Linked DNA regions of Homo sapiens: regions 2 and 3 are each linked to region 1. Evidence: promoter capture Hi-C in 16 types of primary human blood cells and fetal thymus (Javierre and others, 2016). All regions are on one chromosome and are shown on one strand. Each heading gives the region's core, a stretch centred on a gene start or on the middle of the fragment in contact. The rest is flanking DNA. Distances are from core to core; before and after follow the strand shown. Region 1 holds the start of BBX (BBX high mobility group box domain containing). Region 2 overlaps ABHD10 (abhydrolase domain containing 10, depalmitoylase). Region 3 has its middle 6.0 kb from the start of PLCXD2.

Region 1 (3,343 bases), core at 490-2,989:
GGGAATGCACGCTTTATTTTCCTTCCTACAGAAAGGAAAGCAAAAAATAGCTTCTCTCTCTGTCTCTCCCTCTCCCCCCCCCCCCCTCTGTCGTACATGTTGTGTCTTAGCTTTTTGCATCGTTTCGTTTTACCTTCCTCATTTAGCAGAAATGATCGCGGCTATTTCACACATAAACGTGTTCCAGATTCTGGGATTCAGGGTCCTTGTAAATTACAGGACTCGGGTTCGGTCTCAGTTATGTTAAGTTTCATACAATACCAAAAAATAAATAAAATATGATAATAAATTTCAGAGGGTGAGTGAGCGAGACGAGGTGGAGGAGGAAAAGAAACCTCGAGTCTGATTTCTGTAATTTACTAGCGACCCGGATCGCAGCAAATAACAGTGTAACACGAGTGTGGCTTAAGAGGGCTAGGGAGCTCTTTCTAGAGGCATCGACCCCATCCCCGGATAAAGGATCTGCAAGTTTTCTGTCATCGCGACCAGGCAAAGCCGTAACTTACCTTCAGAAATAAGACTTTAAACGGCCAAGGCCTTCCTCCTCCCCTCCACCACCACCCTCAGCCTCGCTCTCTCCACCTTAAACTTATTGACACAACATAATCCCACATTCAAGCAAAATCCTGACACAGCCTCCCTCCTCCTCTTCCCCCTCCTCTCTTCCCTCCCGTTCTCTCTCTCCCTCTCTCTCTGTCTCCCTCTCTCCCCCCCCTTCCCTCCCTCTTCTCTCTCCCCTTCTCCCTCGCCCTCTTCCCCCTCTCCCCCTATTCTTCCTCCAGGCTACTCTGGCACTAAAACAGCACTTTCTCTACTCGCCGCGCATTTGGGTAGGGGTGGGGGGTGAGAGGGCACTGATCTGCGGGGCCGGAACACCCAAATCCCAACTCTCCAGATGAACGAGCAACTGGGCTGCTGTTCCCGGTCACCAACGCAGACGAAACGTTCAATAAATCCACCGAAGGCTGGCTCCTCGTACCTTCCTCCACTGCCCCTGCTCCCCAGGCCCCACCTCCCCGGCAGCCGAGACCAGGCAGGGCTCCACGTACTTTCGCCGAGATGAAGTTTGGGGCTCCCCGGGCGGCCACGAGCCGCCCGCCGGCGTGAGGGCTCTGTTGTTGTTTTCCTGGGGCCGCTCCAGCCCGCGCCCCGGCGCCCGTGCCCCTCTCAGGCGGCGCTGCCTGTGTGCCGAGAGGTGCTGGTTGCAAACGCAGCCTGGCACCGGCTGGCCTACTACTCCCCAGCCCGGCCCCCAGCCTCCCGCTCGCAGGGCACTGCCTCAGCGCCCCCCGCCCCCCGGCCCCAGCCGGCGCGGCCGCCGCGACCCTCGCCCCCGACCTCTCCCGACCCAAAGTTTTGGCGGAGGGGGAAAGTGCCCAGGGAGCGGGCCGGCTGGCGGCGGCTCCGGACGCGCGGGGTTCCCTCCGTCTTCCTCAAGTCCACCCTACCGGCTGCCGCCGCCGCCGCCGCCGCCGCCGCCGCTGCTCCTGCCGCGGAGTCCTTGGGGCTGCAGCCCGGCGGCTCGCAAGTGAGTAGGAAAACAGAAAGTGAGGGGAGTGCGCCCAGGGAGGGCTGGGGATGGGGGGCGCCTACCTCGCGGGCTCGCCGGGCGTGAGGGCGTGTGTGTAGCTAGCCCTCAGCGGCCAGTCAGGGTTTCTCTATGGGAAAGTGGAGAGAAGCTCGCGGAGCCGCTCTGCCTCCGCTTCACTGTACACTGCTCCACATACAGTACATGCAACCCGGAGAGACTGAAAACACTCATTTTATATAAGGCAGCCTGCCATTGGCCCGCGCAGTGACGGACAGGCCGCGCAGCCAAACAAGAGGCCCGTTACACCCAAACACACGCACACATACACACATTTTACAGAGACACACAAAGATCATCACATTTTCTATTTTCTAATGTTCGGGACCTGTAGACAGTAGGAGAGGACAGGTAAAGAGGCCCAGCAGAGTGGGGTAAAGGGGAAAACCCCTGTCTGCACCAAGTTGCAAGGCTTGAAACTGGTGTCCTTTTGACTTGGGAGGGTTATGGTAATAAACTACAACTCCACTGGATATGGAAGTGAGGGGGGTTTTTCATCGCTGCCTTTTGGTGCCCCATGGAAGAGGCCTGCATTGTGTTACGATTTTACAGCCTGACCCGGCTAACAAGTGGCCAAGAAAGGCTTTTATCACCTTGGATTTCTTTTGTCAATGGGTTAGCTATCACATAGGCCAAAATAGTGCAAGATAAGTTTATCAGGACTCTAATGCATTGAGGTTGTTAGTGCCTCATTCGTAGGTAGATTCAAAAAAATCAATATAACAACACACAAAGATAAACATTTTGCTGAAATAGCCAAACAACTTTTAACTGGTCAGTGGACTGCCATCACCTGTGTGGACATGCAAACTGTGCTGTTAGGTAAAATAAGTCATGGAAGATTGGCTATTGACCCTTAGCCTTCAAAACAGACCTTTGATTCAATATATACATGATTTATATTTTGCATATTATATATAAAAATATATGACTCTTTACATATTTCACATCTCATGTGAACATCATATGTTGCATGACTTTTGGAGATGATGAACCTCAGGACTGGTCTTTCTGATTGTTTTTCAACAATGCAACTTCAGAAGATTATATGAGACAGTTCAATACACATAAGTCAACAGGTTGGTGGAAAGAAGTCAAAGCTGGAAATTAGAAGGAATAAATTGTAGATTAAACTCTTTAACCAGCTGAGCAATCTTGAGCAAGTTACTTAACCTCTCCAATGCTCAGACTTGGTTTTGATTTTTAAGATTAAAATAAGAAGCTTTTCCAGATTCCCTCAATTAAATGTTTATTCAGCATCTACTATGTGTCAGGCATTATCTTAGGCCTAGATGTTTTCTTAGGGTTCCTTCCGTTTTAAGAGTTGGTGAATTATTCTCAAATACAAACATTTTGGAGATTACATAAACACTACGATTTTATGGCCTAGGTAAGTAGCTTTAAAACTTAAAGAAAACCCAACTAGGGCAACTTATTTCAGTTCCCCTTTTATTTCCTTGATGCTGTCTTAAGGTTTTTCTCTCGCATCCATAAAGTTGTTAAAAGAGTGTATGTGTGCATGTGAGCACTCCTGTGTAAGAGGGAGAAAGAGAAACAAAATCAGAAAAGTTTAAAAAGTTCAGAAAACAAAGTGGTATTTAGAAATGTGATGTTTATTTTTTTAGAAAAATCATTTTTAAAAGGAAAAGTATATAAAAAATCACAGCATTTTATTTTATTTTATTTTTGAGATGGAGTCTAACCCTGTAGCCCAGGCTGGAGTTCAATGGCGTGATCTCAGCTCACTGCAACCTC
Region 2 (3,343 bases), core at 485-2,984, 4.5 Mb before region 1:
CACTTCATTCAGGCCTTTGGCTCAAATATTACATCCTCAGAAAAGCCTCCCATGACCATTCAATTATTAAAACTGTGCTGCTTTCATCATTCTCTAATTCTTTACTCTGCTTCATTTTCTTCATAGCACTTATTACTACTTGAGATATATTTGATTATTTATGGTCCATCTCCCACATTAGAATGAAAGTTCCACATGGGCACAAGCTTTGTTTCAATGCGTTCCTAGTGCCTAGTTCAGTTCCTTGCGAGTGGTAGGTGCTTAGTGTATATTTAGTGAATTGATGGAAGGGAAGGAGACCAGAATAAAATTCATCATCACCAACCCATCCCTTTCTCCTTCCAACTTCCTAGTTATCTAGGCTCAGTTATCTGTCTGATCTATGAATTTTACCTCTCCTTAAGGGTATCAAATCAATAAAAAATCATGGTGGTATAAAGTATCATACCACACCCACAGGTTACCTAAACTCTAGTCATACTGAACTACTCCTAATTCCCAGTTACACCCTTTTATAACTTAGAGCCTTAGCATGCTGTTCTGCTGCCAAGAACAGCTTCCTCCCCAACCCAAATTCGTAGTCACCCTTTAAGTCATGTCACCTCCTCTGAGGAACTTCACTTGACATATATGCCCCATTTAGTACCAGTCACTTTCTTTTGTATGTACTCAACACTTTTCATATTGTATTGTAATCAAGTTTGTTTTTAAACATTCATCTCCCTCTGACTAGAATGTCAGTTCCTTAAGAGGAGGCTGTTTTATTCGTTTGTTTTTCCAGGCCACAGAATACTGCCTGCCCTATACCATCACCATTCTTTCTCATTTCTTCTTATGTTCATCCCTTTCTTGGTACTTTGGTAAGTCCAGTATCTTGGTGTAGGTGTTTATTTGTCATCTTAGACCTAGACTATCACAGTAGCCTTCTATCTTGTGTCTCTATGACTCTGTCTTTAAATAGAGTCACTATATACATGTCAGTTTTTTTCTTTAACATTTTAGCATTACCTTCAGTGCTCCCTGTGATATACAACATAAACACTTAGTGCTTTGGCCTGTTTTTTTGAACCATTATATTCTGGTCATTTCAGATTGATTTCACAATAAATTTTACAGTAAATTTTTTTTTACTACTAAATTTTACAGTAGTACTCACTTCATCAGGGAATACTACTGCTTTAGACAAATTGATGAACTTACTGTTCCTAAAATAGGTCTATGTTTTCTTATGTGTTTCACATCTCACACTGTTGATTCCTTTACCTGGAATACCTTCTTCCATCATCTTCTTTACTGATATATTTTCCCTTCTTTACTGATATCCTTTCCCAGAGCCTAGTTCAAATGAACCTTTTTGGTGGAATGGCTGGTACAGTAAGTAAGGGATTTATGAGAAATAGGGGAGAGAAGAAATTAAATTTTTCTTTAGGTTTGAAGTGAAACGATTTTGGATCCTTGGGAAATAGAACAGGGCAACTGGTGCAGTCTAAATCAGTTACTGTTTCCCCCTCAATCCAGGGTATGTAAGAGATGGGTAGAAGGGGTGGAAGAAAAAAGGGGGAAAGACACCAACTAATTTTCTCCTTTTCTCTCTTCATAGGTGGCAATTGGATATGGCTGAATGTGGCATCTTTTACAGTTAGCTGCCTTCCAAATATATGGTGAGGATGCAAAATACTTGTACAGCTCCTTCATGAAGGAAAATATAAATACTTGGTGATACTAACAGGGTACCATTAAAAAAATATAGTTAACTCTCACTGAACCCCAATCCAGAGACAAAGATAATCCAAACATATTCAGCACTTTAAAACTTTTAAACAGTAGCACATCTCCATCTTAGCAGCCTCAATAGTCTGGGATGTAGTCCCAAATAAAAATTCTATTACAAATAATTATGAGAGAATACCAGCCTTAAAACCATATGTTATATTCCTGAGATCTGAATCAGTCTTATTTTAGGCATGGTGATAGGACCTTAATAAAACATTTTCATATAGTCATATGTTTTATTTCTTGTGTAATAAACTATTTCATCATTGAAGATCTAAATTTTACAGCAAAAAATCCCAACAAAAGCAACCTGAAAAATTAGAGAATAGAAGATAAAATCTCTTATAATAAAGTGCAATCAATAGTTAACAATAATTAGACTGTGATGAACTTTGATAAGAGCAAATAAAATGGAACTTGTTCAAACTAAATATTTGTAGTTAAGCACTATTCTTTATGAAGGTATACTCACACAGGATCCAAAAATGCAGAAAAGCCACATTATGTCTTATAGGGAGACAGGAACTGGTTATAACTCTCATAGTCTCAAAGCTGAAATTTTAGAACTGGTAAAATGGTGATTTCTCGATTCAAATTTATTCAGTGGCAAAAAAGAAAAGTGATAACAATATTTTTGATATTATGATCTTCTGCTCAGGACAGTCCCCCTCCTTGGACAGCACTTCCCTCCCACCCAAATCTGAATTATTCTTCAACGTTCCTTTATCTATTTCAATCCCACTGTCTCTAACTTTATGCAATTAAGTATACTGTTCTTTTGACACAATCACATTCTGATGAGTATTTCTGCCAAATTTCTAACATGTATTTTATCTTGTGTTTCCCCACCCTGAATGAAAGGTCCTCATAGGCAAGTACAATGTTTTATAATTCTTTGTTATTATGCAGCACTCAGTATAGTGCTAGAGAATCTATTTCCAAAAAGTACTCCAATCTTCAGAATAAGTCAGAACAGATTTTAACATAGTTCTGAGTATGAAAATAAAATAATTCATTAGTTTGGTAAAAGAAATAAGATTAAATCTTATTTAATTTTATAATTGACATAATTGCTGCTAATATATTGAACAGGTAGTCTGAAAGTTTTATATACAGCTGTATTTTCTAGAATTATTGAATGAATGTTTGTGAGTCACTCTTCTAAAAATTTAGATGGATAGATTTTTAGGCTGTTAGTGCTAGAAAATAACTCAGAAGTTATCTCTAGTCCAACCTCCTTCTTTTGATGACAAACTTAGGTCCAATGTTTATTAACTTACTTGTCTTGTCATAGTTATTGCTCGAATTTATTCTAGAACTCATGTTTCTTGAATTCCAGGCTAATCTTCTTTTTACGAAATCATACCATCTCTTCTGGACAGTGGATACTAAACATATAACTGCTACAGGTAGACCTTATAATAACATAAAGTTATTTACTAAAATAACTCTCAGTGTGAAAAATTAGGAATTATAAAATCAAGCTTGAGTTAAGTACCACTTATCCCTATTTATGCTTATACATATTCAGATTACAGGAGAGGGAAGAGAAAACTCAGCAGAAATTTGC
Region 3 (3,343 bases), core at 410-2,909, 4.1 Mb before region 1:
GCCATTCAGACATGTGTAGTTGGCAGGATAAGCCGGCCTGATTTTACTTGATTAAAGGCACCCAAAAAGCCTTGGAGGAAGCATATTGATTTAATGATATTGGGACCAGGGCTGTCCCTGGTCCCCAGAGCTAAGCCCCAGGACTGTCTTACTTCCCAGGCTGTGTACGAGATGGGGAAGGAACAGATCCCAAGCAGAATCAGAACACAGACATGTATTTGGTCGAGGGATATTGCCTAGAGGAGAGTGAGGTTATATGATGCTTTGAGTTCCACAGTGATGCGTCACACACAATTTTTTTTTCTGGCTGGGGAGTGGGGTGGGTGGAAAAGGAATAAGGGACTGAAATGAGGAGCCAAGTAAACGAAAGATGGGATGGAGTAGAAGCTGCTTTGCTTTATGGCCTCGTACCAGTAGAGTTTATTCCTAGTCTTTCCCAAGCTTCTTCACCCAGCTCAAGCCAAAAGACTGTATGATAAAGATCAGAGGAGAATGAGGAGATGCAACCAACATAGGTGGTGCTGGGACGTGACGACAGCAGCAGCAATTACCTCCAGGAAGAGTGACATCATTGCAGCAACTGGGGATCTTCAGGAGCCTCCAAGGAAATGGAGACACTGAGGCACACACTTGTGGACACATGATACAACTTACACATTCCTGACATCAGAAGACAGAGGATTGGGATCCACTTATTTTGTTGATTGGGGTAGAGCCGGAGACTATTGTTTTGTCATTTTTACTGTGACCATTCCCGGATTATACCCAGGTGGTGTGTCCTTGAGAAACTGGGTAGAAGAGAAGCAGAAGCTTAAGCAGGAAGTAGCGTTGTCTATATTACCTCATGCCCACTTGGTATTTATGGCCCACAACTGGGATTCTGTAATGAGACAAGAGTGAACGGCAGCAATGGCTGGCCATAAGATTGTTTCTCCCAGATTTGAAAGCTCGGTGTTCAGGAAGACCCTAAGAGCCTCTGTGCCTTTTAAGTTTATTGGACATTAAGTTTTTCTGGTATGCTTTCAGAAAATTTATTTTAACAGTAGTCGTTACTATAATACTTTTGAGAGGGCTACTAACAAGTGATGATTGTAAAATTCATTTTAATATCCATTCATTTCCGTCTACCACACCACATTCCAGCATCCTCTTCCATTTCTCCTTCCCACGCCACCTCCAATCCCTGAAAAGGAAATTGAGAGGAAATAAAGGCCTCAGAGCCTTTATTTTCTAGCTAGTTAGCTAGTTAGCTGCAAAGTCCCTGATTTAAGATGTTATAGAGCCACCTACTGGTATTCAAGGCTCACTTCAGGCACGTATAATATGTTCTGTCAGTGTCAATTATTCCTAAAAATGCCTGTAGATCACCAGCAACAGGAACAACTAGGAGTTTATGCAATATACAGATTTCTGGATCAAATGCCAACCCTCCTGCATCAGATCCTCTGGGATGGCATCTTTTCCTCCTGTCTTTAAAATGTTCTCCTCAGGGGATTTTTATGTCTCAAATGTTTGAGATGAAGGCTTTGAAATGTCAACAAATTTCTCTTTTTTAAAAAAGTTAAAATAGGTAGAATGGCAGAGTAAACAATTCTTATCCATGCTGCATATAACTTTATGCAATTAGGAAGACTATTTTGGCAGAGATAGTTGATCTCAACTAGCAGGAAAATCAATTGATCTGCCACCCTTACCTTTTTTTTCTCCAGGCTACCACCCCACCCCAAGGTTCCTAGAATTATGAGAATTATGTCTATTATTAGGAGACATTGTTGTATTAATGTGTATATTAGTAATCACTTGAGCTTCAGTCACAACAGAATGACCTCTGTGCATTTGTTATCATTTAACCAATCTAATCTTGGGAATGCATTCTTTTAACAACATGACTCTGCAATTTGGTGTGCCACTATCAATTGGAAATAGCATGATGCCACCTCATCCATGGAGTAAAAATTAGTAATATTATCATTACCTAATACTATCATTCTCTTCCAACTTTTTAAATATTAAAATTACAAGTTTGTACAAACAACCTTAACCAACAAAAATATTTTTTAATAAAGTAAATAAATTTCAATGTAAATAAAAGTAATGAATTTTTAGTGTGTCAACAACTCTCTCTGATCAACTCTCTCTGAATGTTAGGTTGTAGTCAAAAGCCCTTACAAATGCTTCTTGGCCTTTTGATGATTTTGTTTCAAAGGATTCTGATTTGCTTAAGTGTCTGTAGTTAACTCCCCAACTCAGCCACGTGTTCGGCTCTGCCCTTCCTAAACTGCAGAAACTGGTCATGGAGGAAGTTGTAGTTTATCTTAGCAACATCTGCACCCACAGCTTCCTCTTCCTTTGAGTAGCAGAAGTAAAAGAGAAAGTAAAATTTATGCCACACATCTTTCTGTTTCAGCCAAGTATAAAGGAGAATATTCTAGAAGTCAGAGTTAAGCAATATAATGAAGTAGAGGAGGAAGTGAGTTCCTATAACTGGAAGCATCCAAGCCAAGCTTGGCACCAATAAGACAGTAACATGATAGAATTGAAGCACCTGATGCTTGATTGAACTACATGAACTTCACGGTCTTTCCAACCGTACTCTGTTTTTTTCCCTCTGCCTGCTGTAGATACCTTTTGTCTTTGCACAGTTAAGCCTTTCTTTCCTTTTTATTGCCTTTCCTCACTCAAATCTTTGACTTCATTTGCTGTAGTCAGGACTAACAGAACTTCTATATAAATATGGACCTAATATTCTAAAATCATGCGGCTACCAGCAAAAGCTTGAGATTGTGTTTTGGGGAGTACCTTTATACTGGTAACACGTTCTAGCCTCTGGGGACACCTCAACATTTTCTCTACCCTCTCCCCGCATTCAGCACCCAGGATGAGATGCGCTTAGCTCAGGCAGTCAGGCTCAGAAAACACATAATGAAGCTCTCAGAGTGGGAAGTATGAATGACCTGGATGGAAGTCACCTTTAGTGCCTCCATCACCTCCACAGTGGTAGGATTGATGTGTGTGCGGCCCGAGGGCAAAGCTTCTCAACTCTTGCGCCAGATGTGCCCTAATCATGGAGCTGAGTAAATGCACACTCCCCAGAGCCCTGTATGGCAGGCATGACAAGCACTGATCCTGGCATTTCTTTCAAGCTGCATAGTTTGTTTTTGTAAATTCATTCACATTTTGTTACACACACACACACACACACACACATGCACACACACACACAAAATTGATGTTCTGGATGTGCTATGTTTGCCCTGTGGCTTCGAGTCCCTTCTGGCACACGCCTTTATTCTTGGGTACTTGTGACCCCTAATGTGAAAGTCCTAGGTCTGGAAGAAAGGCA

The links. Contacts are between HindIII fragments. The CHiCAGO score rates a contact against its expected background, and 5 or more counts as called.
Region 2: a fragment that was not itself captured here is called in contact with the fragment with the promoter of BBX in region 1 in 1 of 17 cell types (non-activated CD4 T cells); the score reaches 6.4 in non-activated CD4 T cells.
Region 3: a fragment that was not itself captured here is called in contact with the fragment with the promoter of BBX in region 1 in 1 of 17 cell types (total B cells); the score reaches 5.6 in total B cells.

What each region holds. Positions count from the first base shown.
Region 1 is chr3:107,521,358-107,524,700 of GRCh38, reverse strand. It overlaps BBX (BBX high mobility group box domain containing), which reads right to left and starts at 1,739. Exons shown (of 18, transcript NM_001142568.3): 1 at 1,594-1,739. RefSeq lists silencers at 1,063-1,132, 1,243-1,332, 1,363-1,672 and an enhancer at 2,073-2,122. The HindIII fragment of the contact is 5,936 bases long and covers 1-2,812 here.
Region 2 is chr3:111,982,368-111,985,710 of GRCh38, reverse strand. The region is part of intron 2 of ABHD10 (abhydrolase domain containing 10, depalmitoylase); the gene reads right to left. Among named protein-coding and RNA genes, the nearest start is that of ABHD10, 5.0 kb to the right of the region's middle. The HindIII fragment of the contact is 3,051 bases long and covers 209-3,259 here.
Region 3 is chr3:111,667,052-111,670,394 of GRCh38, reverse strand. No RefSeq gene overlaps it. Among named protein-coding and RNA genes, the nearest start is that of PLCXD2, 6.0 kb to the left of the region's middle. RefSeq lists an enhancer at 2,411-2,460. The HindIII fragment of the contact is 1,694 bases long and covers 813-2,506 here.